Linked DNA regions of Homo sapiens: regions 2 and 3 are each linked to region 1. Evidence: promoter capture Hi-C in 16 types of primary human blood cells and fetal thymus (Javierre and others, 2016). All regions are on one chromosome and are shown on one strand. The core of a region is centred on a gene start or on the middle of the fragment in contact, and the rest is flanking DNA. Distances in the headings are between cores, read along the strand shown. Region 1 holds the start of TWF1 (twinfilin actin binding protein 1). Region 2 overlaps TMEM117 (transmembrane protein 117). Region 3 overlaps TMEM117 (transmembrane protein 117).

The links. Contacts are between HindIII fragments. The CHiCAGO score rates a contact against its expected background, and 5 or more counts as called.
Region 2: a fragment that was not itself captured here is called in contact with the fragment with the promoter of TWF1 in region 1 in 1 of 17 cell types (M2 macrophages); the score reaches 5.0 in M2 macrophages.
Region 3: a fragment that was not itself captured here is called in contact with the fragment with the promoter of TWF1 in region 1 in 1 of 17 cell types (M2 macrophages); the score reaches 5.3 in M2 macrophages.

The regions. Positions count from the first base shown.
Region 1 is chr12:43,803,331-43,808,217 of GRCh38, forward strand. It overlaps TWF1 (twinfilin actin binding protein 1), which reads right to left and starts at 2,987. Exons shown (of 9, transcript NM_002822.5): 1 at 2,891-2,987; 2 at 1,165-1,242. The coding sequence starts at 2,915. It also overlaps a transcript of TMEM117 not described here. RefSeq lists a silencer at 2,683-3,162. The HindIII fragment of the contact is 5,668 bases long and covers 1,832-4,887 here.
Region 2 is chr12:43,938,174-43,942,934 of GRCh38, forward strand. All of the region lies in intron 2 of TMEM117 (transmembrane protein 117), which reads left to right. Among named protein-coding and RNA genes, the nearest start is that of TMEM117, 100 kb to the left of the region's middle. The HindIII fragment of the contact is 8,309 bases long and covers 1-4,761 here.
Region 3 is chr12:43,954,406-43,958,835 of GRCh38, forward strand. All of the region lies in intron 3 of TMEM117 (transmembrane protein 117), which reads left to right. Among named protein-coding and RNA genes, the nearest start is that of TMEM117, 120 kb to the left of the region's middle. The HindIII fragment of the contact is 3,231 bases long and covers 1,006-4,236 here.

The DNA.
Region 1 (4,887 bases), core at 1,737-4,236:
TTGCCCCAGGGTAAGGAGGTCAGAAGCAAAATTGTTTAAAGGGGATGCTCTTATACCAGAAAAACACTGAATTTTCTAAAATGCTTGAAGTAAATAAGATAAAATGTTAGCAGTTATTAATAAAGGGGAGATATAGGTATTTATGATACAATTTTAGTCTTTGGAATTTTCCTTATTTAAAAATTTTCACAAAACAAAAAAGTAAAACCAGAAAATAATAACTTAGGAAGTAGTGCCATTTTCCTTCCGTAGAGATGCTAGTTAGATTAACTTTTCCATTTTAGTTCCTTAACTAGTCACTTAGGAAGTGATGGCATTAAAAATTTTAGCTCAGTATTTTTAAAATATGCTGTTTTACAATATACATATATTCCTATTGAATGTTGTATGTAAACAAATGCATATTTTACAAACTATTCTGGTATTTTTTATATAAGCAGAAAATAGAAAACAAATTAGATTTACTTCCAGTTTGTGAAAGAACAAGTTACTTTTCCAAAGCAAAATATTTTCAGATATTTAAGAAATTAGGCCACTGGAATATTTTAATATATTCATTTATGACTGAGTACCTATAACAATAATTGTTCAAATTCAAATCTGCCTGATTTAAAAGATTCTCCCACTCAACCAGATTCCCTGTTTACAGAATTATTTTTAAAGAATCAATTTGTAGTTTGTTATATTCTCAGAACTTTCCCAAAACAAGAAAGGGAAATGATCATTTCTGTGGCAAAGGTTGCAATCAAATGGAGAAAATGGGAGTTTGATATCCTTTGTTTATATTTAAAAACAAACTTAATTGAATAATTCACAAGTAACTATTTTTTTTTTTTGATAATCACCTGTTTAGTGATTTCCATTCCAGAGATGGAAGCACTGACATTAGAAATGGACTGTGGTGCAGAAACTGAGACACAAAAAGTAAAAGAGGAAGAAGTCACATCAAAAAACATCTTTCTGTTTCCCTGATAGTCACATAATTCAGAATGAAATTAGGGGCCCATAGGGACCTGCACAAAATATGAGGAATCCAAGTTACCGTAAGATTTGAACTTGCTTCATATTAATTAATAGTTCAAATCACTGACAACACACAGTAAGTTTAAAAATACAACAGCCACTAATCCAGGAACAGAAAATATTTTAAAATATTTAACTAACCATTTTCAATAGATATTTTCAGAAGTCTGTACTTTCCATTTCTGGCTCTGGCAAAGATCTCTTTAACATCTTCACTTGCTGTGGAAAAAGATAAAGAAAGTAAACTTTTTATACTTACATATAAATACTTTCCTATCTATATTGGAAAAGTTAATTAGAATACAAAGAAAAAATCTGGAGCATGTAGCATCCTTATTATCAGTATTATAAAACTTTACCGCATAAAATAACGAAGACTGTATACAATTAAGAAATATAAATATTAGCATTTTAAAAGTATGTTAATAATTCTAATCTGTTTTAGCTACATAATTCTGTGCAGAAATAACACTGGGGTGAATATACTGAAGTTACTCAAACCCAATAATGAGCAAATTACAATTTTGAAAAACTTTTCTTGCTCTTTTGAAAAATATTGAAAACCTGCTTTCATTCTCTAATTCAGTTTCAAGCTTATGACAGACACTCCTTCATCAATTCACTTTCTGTATTTTCCCGTTAAAAACAACAGTATATATCAAATATCCTAACTTGTTTAAAGAAAAAGACAATAAAATGCATTCAGTCTTAACTCTGGTTATATTTTTCTAACTTGCATTTCTCAAAAGCTAGATTAAACTCATTGAATAAATATGTATTTAATAACTAACCCTTGTGTTCCTATTAAAGCTTCAATTTCGTTCTAATTTCGTTCCTGTGTTGTCTATTAGCAGCAAGAACCACTATGTAAGTAGGTAGTGCTTGCTATAAGGCTCAAGCATGAGAGTCAATAACTACATATTTATATATCGAAATTAATGCGGATAAATAAAACAAAGTTTTCAGATTTGAGACTATTTTGCTTCTGCGTGCGTGCAGGGGGATGTGTGCGGTGGTGTCAAAAATCTTTACGAATAAAACATACAATTAAGTGTTCATCTGGGAGAAAGACTCGCTATTAACAGTAAGAGCTTGAGTTTACACTAGAACTCGTTAAGTGATCGCGAGTAACCCGGGGATATATTATTTGACTCTTGATGAGGTGAGTACCTGCAGGCTGCCCAATTTCAAACCAGGAAATAATGGAGGTCAGATATAACTGCATATTGAACTGTCTGCACGCATTACATGCAACCATACAGATCAGTTTCCCTTGGGGAGTATCTAGGAAAAAGATCAAAACACACGCTTACACTCGAGATTTCTCAGAACATAACTCTCATTTTCCTATTTGGAGAGAAAATGCGGGAGAGTTTTGGGAAGCACCCCTACTGATGTGAGAAAGATTCTGGCATGGTTCTTTTTGTAATCAAAGTCCTGTAATATTCTCCTTTGGACCATGAAAAAGAAAACTCGCCTGGTTCTCGACAGCGTACTGAAGCCCCAGTCGCCTCCACTGTCCCAGCTCTTCCCTACGTGACCAAAAGGGGGAAAGTTGGGCGACTGTCGGGGACGGTGGAAGGCACGCCCCCTTCAACCAGGCCGCCTCGAAAGCCAATTTCCTTCGCTCCCCCGAATTTCGGATCAATCTGCAACGTGACGGCAGCAGGGACCGGGCTGGAGGAGGACGCAGGCCGGCAGCGCCCGGGAAGCAGGAGCGCGGAGAGGCGCCGAGGCCCGGCTCGCCCCGCGAGACCGACTTCCGGAGCTCCCGGCCCGACTCCAGCCCTGCCGGTCCTGCAGCCCTCCCGGCTCTCCCGGCTCTCCCGGAAGCCCCTTCCCTGCGAGTCGCGCCGGGCGCTGTTACCTTGGATGCCGGTCTGGTGGGACATGGCGGCGGCCGCTAGCTCCCGGCTCCGGCGCTGAGTGCAGCCAGCGGCCCCGGCCGGCGGCCCCAGGAAGTGGCTGCTCCTCCGCCGGCCCCGGCGCGTCATCCGCCCGCGACCCGCGGCCGCCCCGCCCCGTGAGGTTGACTGAGTGCCCGAGCGTCCCCGCCGCCCCGCCGCCCTTCCTGGCCGCCGGGCTGCGGTCCAGCCCCCGGCCTCGCTATCCTAGTTCTCTGCTTGGGGTCCTGCTTCTGCTCTTGCCGCCGCCTCTCCCGCTTCTTCCGGGGGGGACATGCCGCAGAATCTAGACTGCTCAGTGCTCCGACGTCTGCTCTCTGACAACCCCGCCGACGCCGCCATTCGCTGCCTCAGCAAAGGGGTGCTCAAAAACGGAAGTGATCATTTTACCAAATAGGCATTTTCCAGCTTAAAAAAGATGTGCACATTATTTTTCTTGGTTTACTCTTCCTATAATCGATACCGTTTAGTGTAGAAAAGCCTTCTCCTTGCTCCATTGTTTTGAAAGAATTAATATAGACTGCCTCTCATCAAATTTTTCCACGATTTTAAATTAAGTTAATCTCAGACTGTTAACTTTTCTTTTCAGCTGGACACATTTAGAGACTCAGTGTATCTTTCTCTTCACTCCGGAAAGAGACAGCCACTAAGAGATTAGCTGATTTGAGTATCCCTCTGTGGTCGATTATACCATTGCAAATCCTGCTCTGCTTTAGGTTGGCAGTTTATTATTTAATCCAGTAATTATTCAAAATTCACTTGGACAGATTTGTAAGGTAGCAGCAGATATTACTTAAAAATCTTTTCCTTTCCTGCTTTTACAAACATGTAGTTCCTTCCTGAAAGGTAATGTTAGTTTTGTGGGGGGTTTGGTTTTTTTTTGGTACTGCTTCTCTACTGCTACTAGGTGGGAAGCTAGTTCTTATTTTTAGGGCCTTGAAGTGACACATACACAAAATTATAATCTGCTAATGAAGAAATAATTTATTCAGGTCAATAATATAAGTGCAAGTTAATCACTGTTCCAGTACTATACGATGTATTTTTCATGAGTGATGAACAGGCCTGCAATTGTTTTTCTTTACAAGAATCACAGCAAACAAGGTTATGTTCTATTGCCTGTTATCTGAGCTCTGTTTTTCAGACATATTCTCATATTCAGGAATAAACTAAATCTGAGTTTTATGACTTGTATGGATTTAAGAAATGTAGGGAGGAGTTTCATTCTAATCAAATTCTTCCTGACACAATGGTTCACCCTGATTTACCAGTTTTTGACTACATTGCTGAGCAGAGAGAAAATTGCAGAGTTGACTTGCAGTATTTTGACTGATTCATGTCCTAGTGCTTCGGGGAAATTGCTTAAGGAAGTTGGCGTTGCTCAAAAGTATAGTTGAGCAAAATATAATCCTTCCATATTCGTGCTTGGGAAAGGCCACTGTATTCTCAGTCCTGAAGAAGAGGAATGTCTAGTTAGGTTGGGACCACCCTGACAGCCACCAGAAAGTGCTTATTTACTGCCAGTACAATAGTTTGACTTAAAAGCTGCAAGCGTCTTGGGTACCTTGCTCTGCTCTAGCCACAAATATTTTCCCACTTTTCTTCATCTATTGTGTCTCCATTTAGTGAACATTTGCCAGAGCTGTCATGAGAATAATACCTTAGATTTGTATGGTAGTTTACAGTTTACAAATAATATATAATAGACTTATTTTGAGTACCAACATCCTGTGTGACGAGCTGAAAAAAATAGCAGGTTTTGTTTTTTAACTTTAAGAGGTTTGGAAATTGAACCACAGAGTTGGGAAGTCAGCAGGTTTCAAGGCTAAGACAAGTGTCTGTAAGAAACAAACCATTTGAAAACAATGTATGCAGATAAGAGGGTTTATTATAAGGATATTGGAGGATCTTATAGATCTTGACAACTTGGTTGTCACCTCTGCTTTTCTCTTCTTTTTCT
Region 2 (4,761 bases), core at 23-2,522, 130 kb after region 1:
GTTGTGATGGTTTGAGGTAATGGGCCACCTAGTGGTCTGGCTGGGGGCAACAAGGCTATATTATATATTATTATATATTATATATTATATTATATATTTATTATATTTAATATATATATTAGCTAATCCTAAGGCTTAGTTAAATTGCTCTTCATAACTCTGGCTAGGGTAATTGCTTCAGGACCCAAATGAGCCCGAATAGAATGAATCTCATAATTTTCTCTAGAAGTGCTAGGGCAAAAGCGTTATCTTTTCATCCATGGACAACAATGAAGAAGCAGCCCTCAGGTTGTTATGGTCATCTTGGGACAACAAAGGGTGTGTGCATGTGTCTTGGGGGAGAAAGTAGTGGGAGCCTGCTAGGATAAGACGCCACACTGAGGAAATGGAGCTGGGAAATAGAGATTAATCAAGTCTTGATAATATTATCTGAGTGCTGGATCAGGCTTTGCTTGAAGTCATTCTATGCCTTTAGTTAAACTAGTTCTACAAAAATTTTGTTTAGAGAACAGACATGAGAAAAAAAGATGGAAAATGTGAGAAGGGCCGGGCATGGTGGCTCATGCCTGTAATCCCAGCACTTTGGAAGGCCAAGGTGGATGGATAGCTGAGGTCAGGAGTTCCAGACCAGCCTGGCCAGCATGGTGAAACCCCATTTCTACTAAAAAATACAAAAATTAGCCAGGCACGGTGGCGTGTGCCTGTAATCCCAGCTACTCGGGAGGCTGAGGCGGGAGAATCACTTGAGCCCAGGCGGTGGAGGTTGCAGTGAGCCGAGATTGCTCCATTGCACTCCAGTCAGGGTGACAGAGTGAGACTCCGTCTCAAAATAAAAAAAAAAATAAAAAATAAAAAAAGAAAAGAAAATGTGAGAAGGAAGCCAATAAAGAATCCTTATAATTTAATCTAGTTTAAATTTAGTTTTTGTTTTCGCTTTTGTTATTTGCAACAGGAATATTACTGGTATGTGGAATGCCTGCTATGCTGATTTTTTGACTATTATATCTTTTGACTCCAACAAACCAAATATACTCCTTTAAGTAGCTGCAGATTCTATTTGTTTCTTGTATATATGGGTGGGCCAAATCATATATAGGTTGGCCAAATCATATATAGGTTTTAGAGCAGAAGACTTAATGGACAGTAGTGTTAATTTCAGTTTGGAGTCCTCTTGAGGAATGAATCCCTTCATTTGTCCTTTTATATTTCCTAGTCAGGGTCTTATGTGTAATGCCATACTTTTTCCTCTAAATTAAATCTTACTCTGAGTTTTTGCTTACCAAGGTAAGCAGAGAGTACAATATTAATAATATTTCACATCACCTTTTCTATCACTAAGGTTTTATAGGAGTTCCAGGGCTACAGTTACTGAAAAGACTCCTTTAGCTTGTTTTTACTTCTGCATCCCTTCTCCTACTGCCACTTCAGTAATGGTCTTCTACCACTTTGGCACAATGACTCAGACTAAGGTGCCTGGGATCTACTCAGGTCATTGTGCACCTAATAGAGGTGGGTGGCTGCCCTAACTGGCACCATTCCCCTGGGACTAGCTTAGTTTGATAACTCAGACTTCCAAAGCCATGTGTATTAGTCTGTTCTCATTCTGCTAATAAAGATATACCTAAGACTGGGTAATTTATAAAGGAAAGAGATTTAATCGACTCTTAATTCCACATGGCTGGGAAGGCCTCACAATCATGGCAGAAGGCAAAGGAGGAGCAAAATCACATCTTGCATGGCAGCAGGCAAGAGAGAGCTTGTGTAGAGGAACTCCCATTAATAAAACCGTCAGCTCTCATGAGACTTATTCACTACCACAAGAACAGCACAGGAAAGATTCGCCTCCATGATTCAGTTACCTCTCACCAGGACCCTCCTACAACACTTGGGAATTATTACAATTCAAGGTGAGATTTGGGTATCAACATGACCCTTGATACCTTGGCCTTGACCAACATTCATGTAGTCATCCCCAAATGAGGCTCTGCCACCTTGGAGACCTAAATGCTTGTATTCTTTATGAACCCAGAAGCCCTCGGTCTATCTGATCCCTGCTTTAACAACCTTCCAGAGGTAGGGCTCCCCACATCTCCTACCTAGAAACACAAACACTTCTCCTTCTCCTCTGAGACTCTTTAGTGTATTTCTTTGCACAGGCTCCATGTGAAAATCACTCCTAAAGAAAAGGGACCTAGAACTCTCAATTTAAAAAGTCTAGCAGTGAGGTAGAAAGGAAATTCTTCTTTCCATTCTTTTGGTGAAGAGAACACAGCAGCAAAAAGGCCAAGAAACCAAGTAGTTTCTCCATAATTCTCCCTGTCACAGTTGTCTACCTCTATTTTCCACAACATATGTTTGCTCATTTTATATACACTTTTTTTTTTTGAGATGGAGTTTTGCTCTTGTTGTGCAAGCTGGAGTGCAATGGTGTGATCTTGGCTCACTGCAACCTCCAACTCCCGGGTTCAAGTGATTCTCCTGCCTCAGCCTCCCAAGTAGCTAGGATTACAGGCGTGCACCACCACGCCTGGCTAATATTTTTGTATTTTTAGTAGAAACCGGGTTTCACCATGTTAGCCAGGCTGGTCTCGAACTCCTGACCTCAGGTGATCCGCCTGCCTCGGCCTCCCAAAGTGCTGGGATTACAGGCATGAGCCACTGCACCTGGCCCATAATATATACTTTTAAATATGCTTTTATATCATTAATCTTGTTAGAATTTTATGACATCTTAGTGATCCTAAACCTACTGTATTTCCAGAAAAAATTCTGAAGTTCTAGGCCATTTCACCTGACTTTAGCCAACATTCATAATCATCAATCCCTGTGCCCTCCCACCCTCTCCTTCACATATACAGGTTTGTGTCCCACTTTAATGCTTTTGATTGTTCTAAGCTGTATTTTCTAATTTCTTTGACTGTATTGAAGGTAACAGTCTATATACTCCAAGATGGATCTTATTAATAACATAAATACACACTCAGATTTACAAATATTCATATATCTGTGATTAAAATAGTCATGTTTTTGGCCATGTCAGAAATGTATCCCTCTTAGTGATGTTTTCACTTCTGTTGGCCTGTAAGGATTGTTGTCACTTGGTTGTCTCCTGAAACTCCTCTAAAAGAAAGTCATAAAATTCTGAATTCTGGGACCTATAGACCTGTAGGAAAAGTGGCACATAATTTATTTTCCAAACCAGCATACCTAAGAAAGGAAGGGGTTACTATTAATAATTATGCCAGGACAACAATTATAAACCACTACTGTCCCAGGGAAACCACATATATAGTCACCCTAAAGGGCAGAGACAGTGTATTTCCATCTGACATCCTCAGGCAGTTCCAAGGTTCTTGGTCTGATTACATTGCATGGGAGAAGTCCTTCATGAGAACAGTAAGCTGAGGGCAGTCTATGTGTATATGTTTCTAACATTCGAGGGTTACTTACAGAGTTAACCTTTAAGTAGCTTATGGGAAATTTTTATAGTACAATTTGACTGAACACTTGGGTCATACTAGTTCTGGACTTAATATTTTGCAGCACTTTTATTGTTCTCTTCAAATGAATTTCAAGTCATGTTAACCTGCCATTTTGTTCTAATGACACTAATGGCTGAAATTAGTGGCAGACGATGAGCTTGGCAGTGACAGCATAAATGGTACTGCCACATCTCTCTTTTTGCTAACTTTGTATTATTTCCACCTGTGTACAGTTAGTCCACAATGTTTTATTTGCAAAGCACTGTTAAATCACCAGCATTATTATTTGACTCTTAACATACATTTGCTAGTGAATGTGTTTGACATATGCTTATGTTAAGAAAGAAATTTACATTTAAATCTTAAAGGAACTCTAATTGCCGGTCTTTGAAGTGCTTCATTATCAACTGCTGAATTAAATAAATAGGTCTTGGTCTAAAGCTGAAAGGACTTGCAGCAAAGGGGCCCCTGAACAAAGAGAGCCCATGAGTCCAAAGTAAGGTCACAATTCCATTAAATACTCAGATGATAATTGACTTCAAGCACTGTCCTGCATTGCTTACAGTTGAATCTCCAGCACCTAGAACTGTGTCTGGCATGTAATAGGCACACATTAAATATTTGTTCAATGAATGAATAAATATTCTTTATAGTGTAAAATATTTGTAGCATGTGGTTTTACTCTCAAGCATTCTGTGGTTAATATATTTTTTTAATATTCTTGTCAGTATGTTGTGTGGAGGCTTGAAAATCCCTGGTTTTTCATAATTATTGATTAAATTAATCAGCAGTTTCTATGATCTTATAATTTGTGGGGGCTAGTATCATTTGTTTTAGTAGAACGTTTTCCACTTTCTTCTTTTAGTTATACAGTCACATTCTCCCTGACTTTCAGTTTTAACCTTTGCTTCTCTTGGATAGGCCAAGAATCCATGGCATGATGTAACCAAATCTCCTCCCCGCTCTTTTTTTTTTACTCTTCATCTCAAGTTTTAGCTAGGATAATGTTTCTGTTAGCCTAGTTTCCAAATGAAATCTAAAGTACTGTTTTCATAAAGGTGAGATATAAGGAAAAGTTCAATAGTTAAATCTTAAAAGATTATTTCTTCCTATGCTCAGTGAGATATATGAGAGATACTGTTTGTCGCTAGAGAGATAATTTCCAGATAGAAATACATACATATATTTCATAACTGACATATCATTAAAAAAGGGAATATTTTCTAACGTAAGAAATTTTAGGATGGGCGTGGTGGCTCAGGCCTGTAATCCCAGCACT
Region 3 (4,430 bases), core at 1,371-3,870, 150 kb after region 1:
AGACTAATAAAGAAGAAGAGAAGACTCAAATAAACACAATCAGAAATGATAAGGCGGATACCACCACTGACCCCACAGAAATACAGACAACCCTCAGAGAATACTATAAGCAACTCTATGCACATAAACTGGAAAATCTAGAAGAAATGGATAAATTCCTGGACCCATAAACCCTCCTAAGACTGAACCCAGAAGAAGTTGAATCCCTGAATAGAGCAATAATAAGTTCTGAAATTGAGGGAGTAATAAATAGCCTACCAACCAAAAAAAGCCCAGGTCCAGAATTCTACCAGAGGTACAAAGAGGAGCTGGTACCATTTCTTCTGAAACTATTCCAAACAATTGAAAAGGAGGGAATCCTCCATAACTCACTTTATGAGGCCAGCATCATCCTGATACAAAAACCTGGCAGAGATACAACAAAAAAAGAAAACTTCAGGCCAATATCCCTGATGAACATTCATGCAAAAATTCACAATAAAATATTGGCAGCAGACTGAATCCAGCAGCACATCAAAAAGCTTATCCACCACGATCAAGTTGGCTTCGTCCCCAGGATGCAAGGCTGGTTCAACATACGTAAATCAATAATGCAATTCACCACATAAGCAGAACTAAAGACAAAAACCACATAATTATCTCAATAGACACAGAAAAGGCTTTTGATAAAATTCAACACCGCTTCATGTTAAAAACTCAATAAACTAGGTGTTGAAGGAACATGCCTCAAAATAATAGGAGCCATTTATGACAAAAAACAGTCAATAACATATCAATAACATACCGAATGGGCAAAAACTGGAGGCATTGCACTTGAAAACTGGCACAAAACAAGGATGCCCTGTCTCACTACTCCTATTCAACATGGTGTTGGAAGTTCTGGCCAGGGCAATCAAGCAAGAGAAAGAAAGAAAGGGTATTCAGGTAAGAAGAGCGGAAGTCAATTTGTCTTTGTTTGCAGATGACATTATCCTATATGTAGAAACCCTATCATCTCAGCTCAAAAGCTTCTTAAGCTGATAAACAACTTTAGTGAAGTATCAGGATACAAAGTTAATTTGCAGAAATCACAAGCATTCCCATACATCTACTGCAGACAAGCAGAAACCCAAATCATGAATGAACTCGCATTCACAATTGCCACAAATGAATAAAATATCTTGGAATACAGCTAACAAGGGAAGTGAAGGACCTCTTTAAGGAAAACTACAGACCGGTCAAGGAAATCAGAAAGGACACAGGCAGATGGAAAAACATTCCACGGTCATGGATAGGAAGAATCAATGTCATGAAAATGGCCATACTGCCCAAAGCAATTTATAGATTTAATGCTATTCCCATTAAACTACCGTTGACATTCTTCACAGAATTAGAAAAATCTATTTTAAAATTCATATGGAACCAAAAAAGAGCTCGCATAGCTAAAGTGACAGTTGTAAGCAAGAAGAACAAAGCTGGAGGTATCATGCTATGATGCCTTTAAACTTACTACAACACCACAGTAATCAAAACAGCATGGTACTGGTACGAAAATAGGCACGTAGACCATTGGAACAGAATAGAGAACTCAGAAATAAACTCGCACATCTACAACCATCTGATCTTCAACAAACATGACAAAAACAAGCAATGGGGAAAGGATTTCCTATTTAATAAATGGTGCTGGGAGAACTTGGTAGCTATATGCAGAAAATTGAAACTGGATCTCTTCCTTACACCTTATACAAAAATTATCTCAAGATGGATTAAAGCCTTAAATGTAAAACCCAAAACTATAAAAACCCTAGAAGACAATCTAGGCAATACCATTCAGGACATAGGCATGGGCAAAGACTTTATGATGAAATTGCCGAAAGCAATTGCAACAAAAGCAAAAATTGACAAATGGCGTCTAATTAAACTAAAGAGCTTCTGCACAGTGAATGAAACTATCATCAGAGTGAACAGACAACTTATGGAATGGGAGAAAATCTTTGCAATCTATCCATCTGACTAAGGTCTAATATCCAGAATCTATAAGGAACTTAAGCAAATTTACAAGGTAAAAACACAACCCTGTTAAAAAGTGGGCAAAGGATATAAACAGACACTTCTCAAAAAAAAAAAAAAAAAAAAAGACGTACATGCAACCAACAAACACATGAAAAAGAGCTCAATGTTACTGATCATTAGAGAAACGCAAATCAAAACCACAATGAGATACCATCTCATGCCAGTCAGAATGGCAGTTATTAAAAAGTCAGGAAACAACAGATGCTGGTGAGGTTGTAGAGAAATAGAAACACTTTTACACTGTTGGTAATGTAAATTAGTTCAACCATTGTGGAAGACAGTGTGGTGATTCCTCAAAGATTTAGAACCAGAAATACCATTCGACCCAGCAATCCCATTACTGGGTATATACCCAAAGGATTTATAAATCATTCTATTATAAAGGCACATGCACACCTATGTTCATTGCAGCACTATTTACCATAGCAAAGACATGGAATCAACCCAAATACCCATCAGTGATAGAATGGATAAAGAAAATGTGGTACATACACACCATGGAATAGTATGCAGACATAAAAAAGAACGAGATCATGTCCTTTGTAGGGACATGGATGAAGATGGAAGCCATCATCCTCAGCAAACTAATGCAGGAACAGAAAACCAAACATTGCATATTCTCACTTATAAGTGGGAGTTGAACAATGAGAACACATGGACACAGGGAGGGGAACAACAGACACTGGGGCCTGTTGGGGAAGAGTGGGAGTGGGAGAGCATTAGAGAAAAGAGCTGATGCACGCTGGGCTTAATACCTAGCTGATGGGTTGATAGGTGCAGCAAACCACCATGGCATACATTTACCTATGAAACAAACCTACTCATCCTGCACATGTACCCCAGAACTTAAAAAAAGAAAAAGCTATAAAAAAGGCAAGATATTCAAAGAAAAAGGAGCTAGGCAACCAACTATATTAAAATGAGAATTCTATAGTAATCACAGTTGAACTTTTGCAGTGACTATACAATATGCTGCATTATTTATATATAGGAATGAAGGCTTGAGAAAATGAGACATCAATAGAAAACTATTTTCTTCCATAGTAATGGGATTTGACTTGATTAAAAATTATTCCAAATACATTTTCTAATTTCCTCTCTTTTCAACTATGTACCCTGAACCAGTCTATTTAGAAATTATTTATTTGGTATTAATAAAGAGAGGCATGCTCCCAAGTTCAGGTCAAAATCTTTACTGACTAGAAACTGAAAAGGTCACCCAGGGCTGGGAAGGATTTTTCAGTTTTGGGTACTTCAAACACTTTTTGAAGTTGTCTTTCTGAATAATTTCTTAGTAATGTAATTTTTATAGCATCCATAGTATAAAGCCCTAATTTAGGAAAGGCTTGCTTGGTCTTTTCAAATATTCCTGTTCCCCAAAGGATGATAATGTATAATGTACAAGGAAGGAAGTGGTGGGGGAAGCAGTGCTAGCACACCATGACGTTGATCAGAATATTCTGAAAAGAGCCACTTGATGGCAGCAAAAGGCATGTTTTCAGCACTGATTGTCTCATTAATGAATCACAGGAAAAGAAGGGTATCTTCCCCCTTCTGAATTTCTGAAACTTGGTGTTGAAATATTCTCCTGCTGTGTTGTTAATGGGCTTTTTGAGGAAATACATAGTGAACTCTTTAATAAGCACTTGTTATTTTGTGATGTGCTTGGCCCCTTTTACTTTATGTTCCAAAACAGGTTTAAGTAACAGTATGCATAGATACTTATATGCTTGCATATGCATCTATATGTTTATAGACTTATTTTCATATTATAATGATAAATACTGTGTCTAGCACTGAGGGAATTAGACATTTGACTCACTGGTAAAAATCCTTCTGTGAACTGGAATGTTTCCAAAGAGCGCATACTATTTGGGGCAGAATATGAAGAAGCTGATTTTTTTAGTGTTAATCAAAAGGAAAAGTTCCATTTTTCTTGATACAAAGCCTTTTCCAGAGAATCAATTACCAATATTAATACATCACTATGTGTTAAGTATTTCAGAGAGAGAAATTGAGAAATAAGACAAAGTGATACAGGCAATTTTGAAAATAAATGTTACTATTTATTTGAAAATAAATGTTACGTATTCAGGACCTGAACAACGTGAAGGTGAAAGTTAGGTGGTGACTGTAATGAGAATGGAATAGACTCTGTCTCTCTGTTCTGTTTCCTTTTTGATAAGCTTTAGTAAGAAGTCACGTGGAGAACTCATCTGGCTGGGTGTGGTGAGTACCCTCAGTAAGTGTGATCTGACCAGGACGACTGCACCAAAGGAGGTGGCAGGAGAGAATATCTGAAATGGAGACTTTCCTAAAGTGTAAAATGCATGGTTTCTTTTTTTGTTAGTTTGTTTGTTTGTTTTTGAGACAGAGTC